2 separate regions of the Homo sapiens genome follow, and region 2 is linked to region 1. Evidence: promoter capture Hi-C in human tissues and cell types (Jung and others, 2019). All regions are on one chromosome and are shown on one strand. Each heading gives the region's core, a stretch centred on a gene start or on the middle of the fragment in contact. The rest is flanking DNA. Distances are from core to core; before and after follow the strand shown. Region 1 holds the start of HEG1 (heart development protein with EGF like domains 1). Region 2 overlaps SLC12A8 (solute carrier family 12 member 8).

What was found. The method cuts DNA at HindIII sites, captures the fragments that hold promoters and counts their contacts. A contact is called where the count stands out against the background at its distance.
Region 2: a contact is called between a fragment that was not itself captured here and the fragment with the promoter of HEG1 in region 1, in 1 of the 25 tissues and cell types used here (IMR-90 fibroblasts).

Annotation. Positions count from the first base shown.
Region 1 is chr3:125,051,345-125,057,730 of GRCh38, reverse strand. HEG1 (heart development protein with EGF like domains 1) reads left to right here and starts at 1,734. Exons shown (of 17, transcript NM_020733.2): 1 at 1,734-2,156. The coding sequence starts at 1,841. RefSeq lists enhancers at 1,171-1,220, 5,764-5,893 and silencers at 1,471-1,850, 1,931-2,020, 2,081-2,240, 5,574-5,623. The HindIII fragment of the contact is 8,893 bases long and covers 1-4,076 here.
Region 2 is chr3:125,186,010-125,192,568 of GRCh38, reverse strand. It overlaps SLC12A8 (solute carrier family 12 member 8), which reads left to right. Exons shown (of 14, transcript NM_024628.6): 3 at 2,048-2,194; 4 at 5,141-5,332. Among named protein-coding and RNA genes, the nearest start is that of SLC12A8, 23 kb to the left of the region's middle. The HindIII fragment of the contact is 3,800 bases long and covers 2,494-6,293 here.

The DNA of each region.
Region 1 (6,386 bases), core at 485-2,984:
TACTATGTGACATGGTCTCCTTGGAGGGGAGGGAGTGGCAGTGACCAGAACCTCTGAGCACAGTCCTAGTCTGTTGGGGCTTGTCTGGCTGGGTCTGGGCAGCTGTGCAGTCCTGCCTGTTAATGTGAGAGCAGCATCCAGAGAAGTTAAGCTCAGGCCATGGGAGCAAACCAAGTCAGTTTCAGGGAGATTACTGTTTGGTACTTTCTTGGAGAGACCTGGAAGTTCTGTGTTAGAGCCCTGGAAAGCTGGTTTGTTTAAAAACAAAACAAAATAAAACCAAATCTTTACTCCTCATTCTCTCATTTAAGGTGAGTTTGTTTATACACAGCCTCCTTTATGTTTTTCTGCCAAATGACTCACTTGTACTGAGTCACCAGAAAGTGGGCCTAGGCCCATCTGCAGCTGCCCTGGACACTACGATCTCATTCTCCTGGAGGTGGGTCATGGAGATCTGGAGACAGAGAAAAAGAGAAGAGCAGAGAAATAGGATGGAGAGCCAGGCCTGACAGTGAGGTGCATACTCATATTTTCACGAGCATTTGGTTGTCAGACAGGGGCCCCCAACAGAACTCGCAAGAACCCCAAGGAGCTGCAACATTTGTTTCTGTTGCAATACTATTTGTTTCCGTTTGCGAATTATTGCAAACTCTGAATTAGGAGACCAGAATTAATAATATCACATGGTCATTCACAGATCAATCATTTCGTCTTCGGGTCTACCTTCAGAATCTTGAGCAAGTTATTTTCCCATTTGAGCCCCTCTTTCTTCACTTAATGAGGTGGCTTACAGTCCTAAACTTTAGACAGTTTATTATTCATTTACTGGGGAGGGAGAGGTTATGGAAACAAATGGAACTTTATTGACCAAGAAAATTTGTTTACATGAAATCTTTGAATCTTTCCCCATAGGTTTCCATTTAAAATTCTGTGTTCTCTGGGCATCATTTGGTTTAATTTGCGATCTGCAGTTCTTTTCCTGATGATGAGTTTGCCCTAGCCTGCCTGAATTCACAGTTTTCTTTTCCCTGCAGCCTGTTTGGGTGTCCTCGCGGTGACATCTCTGCAGAACTCTGGTGTGAGCCAAAGGCAGTGGTCGGATGGGAACGGCATCCAAGCTTGAGAGGGCGTGGGGGATACTCGGATTCTCGCGTTGGCCGGAGGGTGAGGTGTTAGGTTTGGCAAACACGAGCTCATCACCAGCCCTGGGGCCTGAAGAAGGGGAGGTGGGGGTGGGAGTGGGGACACTTCAAATCAATAACGGCGGTGACAGCGCGGGCTGGGTACCAGGGGACCGTTCCCTTTCTCTCTCCTATCAAAGCACTTGGGATAATCTAGTCTGGTGCTAATCACATTACCCAGGACCTGCTTTTCACCTACTTCTTGTGCGTTTAAGGAGTTGGGTAGGTGGTGCCCGATTCAGAAGACTCTGGAGCATGTGTGTGACAAAAGTTGCAGCACCGTGGCTCCGCTGACCTCATCCCGCTGTCCCGGGCCGGGCCGCTCTCCAGGCGCCCGGCCCCAGCCCCCTTCCTGCCCTCTCCCCGCCTCCGGGCCCGCCGCGCGGGGCCGGTGATGTCAACTGAGGAGGAGCCGCCCGCCAGCCAGCGACCCGCCCGGGCTAATTAGCATGTAGCGGCGCCGCGGGCCGCCTCCGCCCAGCCAGCCCGGCCCCCGGCAGCCCTCCCGCGGCTCCCGATAACTTTTGAGGCGGGGAGCGCGCTCGCAGCCTCACTCCGCTCACTTCCCCGGCCCCGCGCGGCCCCCGCCGCCCGCTGCCCGCTGCCCGCTGCCCTCGCCCCGCGCGCCGGGCATGTGAGCGCGGGCGGGCGCCGTCACCATGGCCTCGCCGCGCGCCTCGCGGTGGCCGCCGCCGCTCCTGCTGCTGTTGCTGCCGCTGCTGCTGCTGCCGCCGGCGGCCCCCGGGACGCGGGACCCGCCGCCTTCCCCGGCTCGCCGCGCGCTGAGCCTGGCGCCCCTCGCGGGAGCGGGGCTGGAGCTGCAGCTGGAGCGCCGCCCGGAGCGCGAGCCGCCGCCCACGCCGCCCCGGGAGCGCCGCGGGCCCGCGACCCCCGGCCCCAGCTACAGGGCCCCTGAGCCAGGCGCCGCGACACAGCGGGGACCCTCCGGCCGGGCCCCCAGAGGCGGGAGCGCGGGTGAGTGAGAGCCGGGAACCTGGCGCCTGGCCAGTCTGTGCTGGGGGCGTGGGCGCGCCCCGGGCTGCATCCCCAGCCGTAGGCCCCTCCGCGCGGCGCGACCCAGGGTGGGGGCTCCTCGCCCGGCGTGTGCGGGACCCTGAGGGTCGGCGGGTAGGGAGGGACGCTTTCGCAGTTGGCTGGACTGAGGGGTGTGACTATCCCGTTCTCCTCCAACCCTTTGGAAGAAAACTTATTTCCTATGGGGTACCCTGTATCTCTTCCACCCCACTTTAAAAAAAATGGAAAGGAAAGGGAAAAAGACTGCAAAGCATCTCTCCCACCTCCGATATCTGGCCAGCCGGTCCCCAGTTTCATTTTTTCCGCTATACAGAACTGGCCTCTCCAGGTACAGGGCTCGACTTTCTCATCTAAATAACTGATTTTTAAGGGGTTCTAGGACGGGATATTGTAAAGGACAAAGGATGTACGTAGTTTGAAACAAAACGCTCTACTGGTTCGACTTAAAAGCAAAGGAACGCGGTTGGGGTTGCATGGTTGAACCCCTGCAAGGCACAGGCTGATACAGGACCATCCCTGAGCCTCCTCCCTCCCCTTTCCTTTCCCAATGAACTGTTGCTCCGTGGTAGCCACCGCCTGTCCCACGCAGAGAGAAGGAACTGACCTCTTCTCCCTGCTACCTTTGTGTCCAGTTCTTTCTTATGATCTGGAAAAATATGCCACATACTGAGTGGAATTCTAACCATAATACCATTATGACCTTGGGACTGCTGTCTCTTTGCGCTCACTTTCTCCATCTGTGAAATGAAAGTGATGATCCCTGTTCCTTCTAGCCTCCTAGTGATGATGTGACAAAATGAAAGTAAAAATAAATGGAAAGTGCTTTGAACAAAGTCAGCAACGTGGTGGTGTTAGCCTTTGCCTTCCTGTGAGTGACACAGGGCATATGCTCTGTCCGGGCTATTCAAATAAGCTGGGTTGCTTGCAACACTGGACATTGATTTGGAGTTTCCCTGAAAGTTGAGTTTTTTGTCTGCATAATTGACAATTCATTTAAGTTTCTCATCTCATGCAGACTTTCTGGCACGTGAATTAGCTTGCTTCCTCCAACCTAGAGGTGCTTCTTAGAGTTAAATAAGAAAAAGTTTGGATTTTTAAAAATCAAGTTCTCCTGTAAAAACTCAATTTCATATTCAACAGTATTCCCATTATCGCAAAATGCCTTATTTTGTGAATTTTTAAATCACTGGCATAAGATTGAGAAACCGAGGAACAGTAAGAAAAGGGAGAGGAGAGATAAGCTTCTGAAGACGTGTAGGAGACACATCCCGGAGTGACTGTGACTTTAGATTACTTACAGCATACGCTGTTTTGCTAACTTCCACGGGAAGGAATCAAGAACATAAAACAACATATTTCCCGACTTTCTCCAACTAGGAAAGTAACTGAGGAACACTGTGTAGTATTTTGTGAGTTTTTCTAAACAGAAGGTGAACTGCAGAGAACTGAGAACATTTCAGAGGAGACACCCAAGAGCCGAAGGCAGATTTCTCTGGGTAGTAGTCAGGCTGTCTTAGCTGAATGGCCTCCATCTTGTTAGGGGATAGGTGGGAGGGACACTGACTTGCAGGGGCCCTGGCTGGATGGGGCAGGCACATGAGTCTCTTTCCTTCTCTTAGGGGCGGGATCTCTAGAGAGAGGTAGGTATTACAGGTATTACAGAGAGGTAGGGACAGTGGAGGCAGCTAGCTTAGAGGACTCAGCTGGTAAGAATTGGGGCCTTATGTGACCCAAACATCCCTCACAGGTGTGGCAGGTAACACTGCTGGTCTTGGTTTTGTGGCTTTCCCAGTTTGATTCCTTTGCAGAGGTGAGTGATGGAGGCTTCAGGTATATGAGGTACTGGAAGGAATACATGTGAGAATCCCAGAAAGCAGCGAGAGAGTAGTTGGAATAGTGTACACCTTCTCTTACCTAGGTAGGTTCTCTTGGTCTCCTGGTGCCCCACAGACACCACCCAAGGAGTGCCTCCTCTTCAGTGGCTCAAAGGCCCAATCTCTGAAGGGATGTTAGGAAGGTGCGATTAGAAGAGATGAAATGAACACCTGTTGAAGCTGCTAGAAGCTACTCATATGGCCAAGGATCTAGGCATGACCTGTGCTTTTTTTTCTGGTAGTGGCTCAAACAGTATCATTTAGGGGTAAAAAAGAAACAACACATAAGAAAACCAGTGTTCAGTGATTTCAGTGAGTCTGAGTTTTCTGATAACCAGGATTGGGAGCCTTTTGGATGGGTCCTCCTGTATCACTAGATGCTATCACTCATTTCACAAGGCAGCAAGGTCTCAATGCTGAGAGGGCCTCCACAGGTCCTCCAGTCTGCAATGTGTCCCATGCAAATGTCTGCCCCTCCAGCACCCCTGACAGATGGTCATCCCGGCTCTCCCTCAGCATTTTTGTGTTTGGGGAGGCACCATGCTACTGTCACTAACAAGCCCTGAGTCTTACAAGTAACGTGCTCCATTTGGTTGTTGGAGAAGCTTCCTGCAGGCCTTTCGTGCCATGGGGATGCTGGTAGTCAGGGCCTGGCCCCTGGGACTTCCAAATACACTGATGTCAGCAGCAAGGGCCACAGATGTCCTTTTCTTCCCTGTGGGCCATTTCCAGCTCTTCTCTTCCTGGCAGAGTTCAACTTCTCACTGCTGAGTAACCGCGTTTGCATTCCATTATGTGGATTGTTTGCCTGTATTAGACTGTAAGTCCCTGGAGAGCAGCTCCCTGTTTATATAGCCATTGTTAAGCTTTTGCACCCACCCGTCACCCTGCTGGCTGTTCAGCTGATGTTTATTGCTGGTGTTTCAGCCAGTGGTGACAAGATGCTGAGACCTAGAGGTTTTCTTTTTCTGCGTGTGTTTTTCTACCACTCAGGACTTCCGAGCCACAGTTCTAAGCTGAATGCAAAGTTTATATGCCTTAATTTTGTGATCCATATGCTATGCTTTAATTGTGAGATCTGCAGATGAGAGGGAGAGAAGGCTTAAATCATAATGAAAATCAATGCAGAAGGAAAGAACTTTCCCACCCAAAGGGGAAATGACGCTGAGTAGCTGAGCAGCCAGCCCGAGAAACAATAATCTTAGAAAAATGCAGCTCCCTGGAGGAAAGGAAGCGCTTTGAGCTGAGCCCCGTCTGAGCTGTTAAATAGCTGTCGCCTGAATTGCTCTAACTTTGTGGGCCAACTTCGTCATTTAGCTTGGCTGCTGGGAGAACCATTACAAGGTGCAGCGGGCAAGAGACAGCCCCTCAGGGAGGGGAGAGTGGCTTCCCTCCAGAAGGCGGCTACCTCACTCCTGGCGGAGGCTTGGGGGTGGTGGTAGTGGGGATTCCTGAGAAGCCTGTTTGCTTTGATGGAGGGTGTCCCAAATAGAAGGGGGGGAGGCGGGAGGGGGCAAGGGACTCTCCGTGGTGCATGAGTGTTTAAAAGCCACATCCTTTTTACCTTGCAAGAACCCTTTTATTGCTTTCCTCAGCCTGTGTGCACATGCTGAACTGTTATGTTTTGCCAGAGACCCGAATGGTGTGGACTGAGGGAGACTGAAAGGTATTTGCTGCCCAGCTGGGCAGTTTCTGCATCCTTGTCCTGGAGGCTGGGGAAGGAGCCTCTGCCCTCCTGGTGATCCCTCCTGCCTTCCAGCAGCCCCGCCCAGCTGGCTGAAAACAGTGTTCCTGAATTTAACTTGTCCTTGTCCAGAGACACTCAGAAAGAAAGCAAAGAACAGATGGCAGTTGTGGTTTTGTTAGCCACTTACTGCCTTCTTCAGTGGCTTCCCTCTGTCTCCAGCGTCCTTTTTGTATGAATGGGAGGTTTCAGCTGCAGTAAATATTCTCTTCCAAGAATCCTGGGGAGGCAACAAGGAAGGAAACTAGTTTTGGGGTCTGACTTTTGACTCCCTGGCCTTTGAACACGTATGTGTGGTCGGCGCCTTCACACTCCTTATCCATTTAATCCTCAAAACAAGCCCGTGAGGGATGTTATTTGCCTTTTACAGTTCTGGAAACAGTAGCCTGGAGAGGTTAGATCACACGGTAAATGGAGGCGGCAGGATTTTAATAGATTTTGACCAAATCCATGTGCTTGTCCCACAATATCAGGAGGTCTCAGTTTTCTCATCTGTAAAATGGGGTACCAGTTGTCCTAGATCTCTAAGATCCTCTCCTGCTCATCATTCGT
Region 2 (6,559 bases), core at 3,144-5,643, 130 kb before region 1:
CAAACCAGCCTTCAGAATGGGAAAATGAAGGCACGCGTGAAAGAGGAATAAGGTTTCTGTCATCACAAAGGCATTCATGGGTAAGGCAGATGTATTCGCAGTTATGCAAAGTCCAGAGTGTTAGAATTTGAAACCTGAAAGACTTAAATTTAGGGGCAAAAAGGGCAAGTAATGTTTAGGTGAGTGTGGGGCAGGGAAAAGCACAGATCTTACAAGTGCTGGGGGAAGCCCTGGCTGTGAGACTGGGCCGTCAGGTTTCTTCTCTCAGCCTCCATCTCCTCAGCCCTCAGTGGGGCCCCCTCCCGGCCTGCCTCACGGGGCTGCCGTGAGGAGCAGAGCAGAGAGCTCCTGTGGAAGCTGATGGCACTCTCTACAGTATTAGTCTTTTTGTTGCTGAGAGTCACTGTTATTACTGAGGAACAGTCGGCCTGTAGCAAGCCACGATAGGAAGTGGAACACAAGCAGAGACAGGAAGTTGGGACCCATCCTGAATTTCGAGATGAGGATCCTGGGAAACACTCCTGCATTCCCCAGACAGGTCCTTTGGTACCATTTGCTCAAGGACAAGCCTAGATTGGCAGAGTCTTTGTTCCGAACCACGAGGACTGTTCTGACAATTATTGACTTTCAGGAGATTGCTCATTTGTGGTTTGTGAAGGACAGGCAAGCAGTCATGTACATGCATAAATGAAGCTTACGGAGTTGGAGACTGACGGAGACACAAGGGGTCCCCTGGCCCATCAGTCCCATGTGGCTGAATTGAGATCCCTGAGTATTTCTCGAGGCCCCTTCTTGATCTGTGGATGTCTGATACAGGAGGTGGAAGAGGAGCTGGGATCCTCCCTTTTGGTTTTGAGCACATGCCGTTGGCCTTAGCCTTTGGTTCTAGATCCTGGGCGCACCCATTGTTCTCAGCCATTCAGGAGCCATGCCCCGTGGACTCTGGATCTTGGATTTTTCCCTAAACTCTTGATTTTTCTGCCTTTTTATTGTGTTTATGGATAACATTTGCTCACCAGGTCCAGATTCATTGCACACAGTGACTCCTAGCTTTGGATGCCTCTCTCTCCCCACCCACCCCACCCAGCTGAGAACCGTAATCACTGCTGTAGTCGTTTGTGGTCACTGGAAGACTCTGTTCATGCCTGAGTTTAGATTAATTGCCAAACCTACATAAGAGCATTCACAGTGTGAGTTACTACTGGTTTTGTTTAAGATCATTTTAGTATATCCACGAAGTTATGGTTTTTTTAGTAAAGGGTTTCCATTTGAGTGTTTATAAGTGCCTTTGTTATTTGTGAATTGGAAAAATGAGCAAGGAATCTGTTTTTTCATTATTCGCCTCTGATTCCAAACAATTGTCCAGTAATGCTGAAGAATCCTGGGGTATCAGCAGAGATCACTGTATTAGTGCTCAGTAAGGAAAACAGAAATAACTTCAGTCATTTTAAACAGGGAATCTCATCCACAGGGCTGATTGCAGAGGTGTTAGAAGGGCTGAAGGAGCAAAGAGCGCTTCAGTAAGGTTGGCCAAATGTCAACTGCCGGAAGCTGCTGTCCCTGCTAGGACTGGAGGATGAAGAGGGCTCATGACCATGAGCCCCAGGAGGTGAAACCCAGAATCTCACACTCACTTAGAAGTGTCATCTATTGCTTCTGCCTGCATTCCATGGGCTAGAACTCAGTCACACAGCCACTTCTAGCTGCAAAGAGGCTGGGAGTCTACCTGACTCCCTGACTACTTGAGTGATGACCAGAGGAAAAGGACTACGTTTGTGAATAATGAGTCTCTGCTACATATGGATACGGAATCACTGTTGTTACAAGAGAACAGTGATCCTTTTGTAGAGGTATGCTTCAAGATGTGTGTGTGCGCATGTGTGTGTATGTGCATGCATGTGTGTATACACACACACTTGCCCTGGCACAATAAGACAGGACTGTTTTTAAGCTGAGTTCTCCTACCTCCCTCCTCCTGTTCCACTCTCATGCCATCCCTGGCCCTCCCAATGGCCCCTCAGCTGATTTCTGTGTGTTCTGTTTGCAGGATGCCCTGGCCCAGCCCCAGCCCTGGTGGAAGACCCAGCTGTTCATGTGGGAGCCTGTGCTGTTTGGGACCTGGGATGGTGTGTTCACATCCTGCATGATCAACATCTTTGGGGTTGTGCTCTTCCTGAGGACTGGCTGGCTGGTGGTGAGTGCTGAGTTGGTGGCCTGGAGCCTCTCACGGGCCCAAGACAGGAAAGCTCTGCCACTCTTGCATTCTACAGTGCAGGCCACAGATTCCTGAAGCACAGATGCTCCTGAAACACGAAACAGAAGCAAGCACGATGAATAGCTAGCATTGCTTGTTAAATGAGCATCCTGTGAAGATAGGCTTCCGAATTTCTAATGGAAACCTCACACCATAGATTTAACTGCAGAATAGGAGCACAGAAGTCAGGGCTCATCATGAGCCGGACTTGAGATGGGTCAGAGAGATCAGATTGATGGCAATTTTGCCTCCAGCTTGTGGCCCTCTGTAGTTTTCCCGGTATTCTTCACTTCATCTTGGGCCCGCCCACATGGTTGCCTTCCCCCACCACACTGCAACCCTGTAGGTAAGACTGTGCATGGGGATGCTTGGTCAGAGGTGTGGGCCGCCTACCTCTAGGGATGGATTGCCTAGGATGGACTCTGCTGTGTGAGATCCTGGGGGTCAGTTCATCTCCCCCTGTAGAAGGAACAAAAGGCCTCTTCTTTAATTCTTATGCAAAGCATCCTAGGACCTTCCAAGCAGATGTGTGCCTGGGGCAGGGGTTCTCAGTCCCACACACAGTGCCATCTCATGCAGTGGGACTTCAGTAGACCACACAGGTGCGCAGAACAAAAGGCAAGCCAGTCACCATCTAAACATGGATGAGCACCTGCTGTGGGCCAAGCACTACTTAGTGCCAGTGGGATCACAAAAGACAAGACATGGCCTGGGCCCTCATCCCCTCCTCTCTTCCCCGCCCCGCCCTATGAGCTAACAGCTGTGGTGGGTAGATATTGCATTAGGAGAGTTCTGAAAACAGCATTAAGTCCCTTGGGGTGGAACAGGCTATGAGTGCTGCAGTCACTGAGGTGTCAGGAAGCCTTCCTGGAGGAGATGCAGTTGAGCCAGGCTTTGAAGGGTGAGCTGGACTAGATGGGTGAAAGAGAGGAGGCCATTCAAGGTGTAGAATCTACTAGTCAGGATTCTCCAGAGAAACAGGCCAATGCCAACAGGAGATGTAAGTATGTCATGTATATATTAGCAGGTAAGGATTGATGCTGCAGTCTTGAGTCTGAAGGCTGGAAATGCAGGAAGAATTTCTGTATTGCAGCCTGGAGGCAGAATTCCTTCCTCTTTGGGAAACCAGCCTTTGCTTGTAAGGCCTTCAACTGATTAGACGAGGCCCACCCATACTATGGAGGGTAATCTCCTTTACTTAAGGTCAACTGATAGTAAATATTAATCACATCTGAAAATCACCTTTACAGCAACATTTAGACTAGTGTTTGACTAAACAATTAGTTGCCGTAGTCTAGCCAAGTTGACATATAAAATTAACCATTACATAGGCAAATTTGGGGAGATTTAAGCTCCTTTATAGTGGGATGTACAGGATTCTTAGCCCCCATAAGAAGTCTGGGCAAGACCAGACCTTCCTAAGCTCTCATTCTACACCACACTCAGATCCTCAGCTCAGGTTTCGGCCTTAGCCACAGCCAGGGTGGGTCTCAGACCAGCAGTGGAGCCCTTGAGCATTATATTATAAACACTGGAACAGAGTACAACTGACTTCCAGGACAATTTTCCAGCTCATGTTAGGCCACTCAGCTCTTGAACTGGCTCTGCCCACTCCTAGGACCCTCTCCAGCACTCACAACACATGAAGTCTTGACTATCAGGAGTCTTCCTTGCTTTCTATTGCAAAACATGTGACATTACATCTCCTTCTTAGAAGTGCTGTGTCCACTGCCTCTCTGCGACTCTTGCTTTTCACACTGAAATGTGTCTGTCTACATGTGTTCATCTCCAGCCATGCATGGTTTGTTTATTCGCTCAACAAGCATTTAATGAACACCTATTTTGTGGAGGTTATGCTAAGCACTGAGAATATGAAGGGGAAGAAAACATGATCCTGCTCCGTATTAGTCCATGTTACATTGCTATAAAGGAATACCTGAGGCTAATTTATGAAGAAAAGAGGTTTATTTAGCTCACAGTTCTGCAGGCTGTACAAGAAGCATGGCACCAGCATCTGCACTTGGTGAGGCCTCAGCAAGCTTTCACTCATGGGGGAAGGTGAAGAGGGAGCAGCGTGCCACGTAGCCGGAGAGAAGGCAAGAGAGATGCCAGGCTCTTTTAAACAACCAGCTCTCCTGTGAACGAACAGAGTGAGAACTCACCCATTACTGTGGGAGGACACCAAGCCATTCACGAGGGGTCCACCCCCATGACCCAAACACCTCCCACCAGGCCCCACCTCCAACATTGGGGATCACATTTCGACATGAGATTTGGAAGGGATCCAAATCCAAACATCTAAACCATATCATCCTCCCCTGGAGCTCACAGCCTAGAGGTCAAAACTGGCTTGGAAACAGACTCAATATGACAAGTCCTGTGAAAAGTACTAAGCCCTGGCACTGGAGGAGCCCAGAGAAAGGGTTACAGGGCCAGCTTCCTGGTGAGAAATCCTAAACGTTGAGGCCTAAAGGATATGCTGGAGTTAACCTGACAAAGGTACAGAATGAGCAGGAGAGGCCTTCCAGGCAGGGGAATCAGCATGAGGAGGGGTGGGGGTGGGGAGAGAACTTGTCGCTGCACGTCAGGCACAAAGTGAGATTAGGAGGCACCTCGTGAGGGCATCAGCAGCTCTGACTGTACCCTATAGGTGGGAGAGTCATTGAAGAATTTGCAGCCAGGACGCTTCCTTTCACTTAGAACTTCTTCCTGGCCTTGGCTGTTGTGGTGCTTGCTTTGTCCTTTTTAGTTGTCCTGACTCTGTGCCCCCACCCCTGGCCCCTATTCCAGTGCTGTGGGAGGAGGGGAGGTGGTCAATGCCCCCAGCAGGGAGCTGGCGGGGCCTCCTCACCTAATCCAACCTTGCTCCTTGCTATTCTGCTGCAGGGAAACACAGGAGTGCTCCTGGGCATGTTCCTGGTGTCCTTCGTCATCCTGGTGGCCCTCGTCACGGTGCTGTCTGGCATTGGCGTCGGGGAGCGCAGCAGCATCGGCAGCGGTGGCGTCTACTCCATGATCTCCTCGGTCCTGGGTGGGCAGACGGGAGGCACCATCGGGCTGCTCTATGTGTTTGGACAGGTGAGGCCTGCGCCCGGGATGCTTCCCCTGCCTGGCCCTCTGCCACTTTCTTCTTGTCCATTTCCTCACTTGACCTGGGGAGAAGCGAGGGTGGGGACAATTGCCGCATGTGACAGACGAGCAGGTTGGGGCTCTGAAGGGAATTCAGCAGAGAGTCAAGTCACTATCCAGGGCCTGACCTCTTAGTCCAGCACTCCTTTCCCTCTGCCACTCCCGCCTCCTGGATGCCTGATGTGACCAGCAGGGCAGGGCCTGGCCAGCACATTCTTGCTGTTCAATCTGGGGACCAGATTGCATGACAGTGGCTGAAGCCCAGGTGGCAGCCAGGTGGCAGCCAGGTGGCCTGGGCCCTGGGACGCTTTTTTACTGAAGATGGGTATTTTGCCTGTGCCAAAGGGCTTTCCTAGAAGCAGGCACTTCTCAAATGAGCAGGAGCTCCCGGGAGCATTTGATAGCTCGGGTGGCCTTCACAGGGAGGCTGACAGCCTCTTGTGTGGACGCCCTGTCTGAGAGGGAGAATGTTAATGAGGAGTGTGCTTCATCAGAATGGACGGAGGCACTCCGAAAACGAGCGAGTAGGGGGAAATCCTAAGGCTTTTTTAGCTAAAACACAGGCATGGTGACTTAATGCTGAGGGAACAAAGTACAGACATTAAGAAGCAGTTCTTTGTCAGCATTTCTTGGATTGAAAAAGGCTTTTATGAGAGTGCAAATGGTGGTGGGTGGTTGAAAAAACAGTTTAAAGAGAAGAATTTGTCTAAGTTAGAGTGTGCAAGAATCTCCCCAGAGAAAGCATCGGTTTTGTTTCTTTTATTTTTAGGCAGCAGGAGCAGGGTGTTTCAGCATAAATATATCTGATTCTCGAACAGCACAGAGCTGCGTGTGTGCATGTGTGGGCGGTGGGGGTGCCTGTGTGTGTCTAAGACAGTGCAGGAAAGGCAAACAGATGGCCTCTGCACTCTTAAAAAGCACTTGCCTTGACTGCAGAAAGTTATTTAAGTATAGTAGTTGGAGAGGGGAGTAATAAATGGTCAGTTTACTTTATTACCCTGGGGACTTGGTATATAAATTTTTTTTTTTTTTTTACTTCTCTGCTATTTTATAGCCAACCAGGCTGCAAGGTAGGCAAAATCCTGCTTTCCCCCTCTCGGTACAGACACCAAGTGAGCCTCTAGAGGCAGATGCCATGGATGGGCACTGGTGTGAACACCCCTGGACAAAGACAGG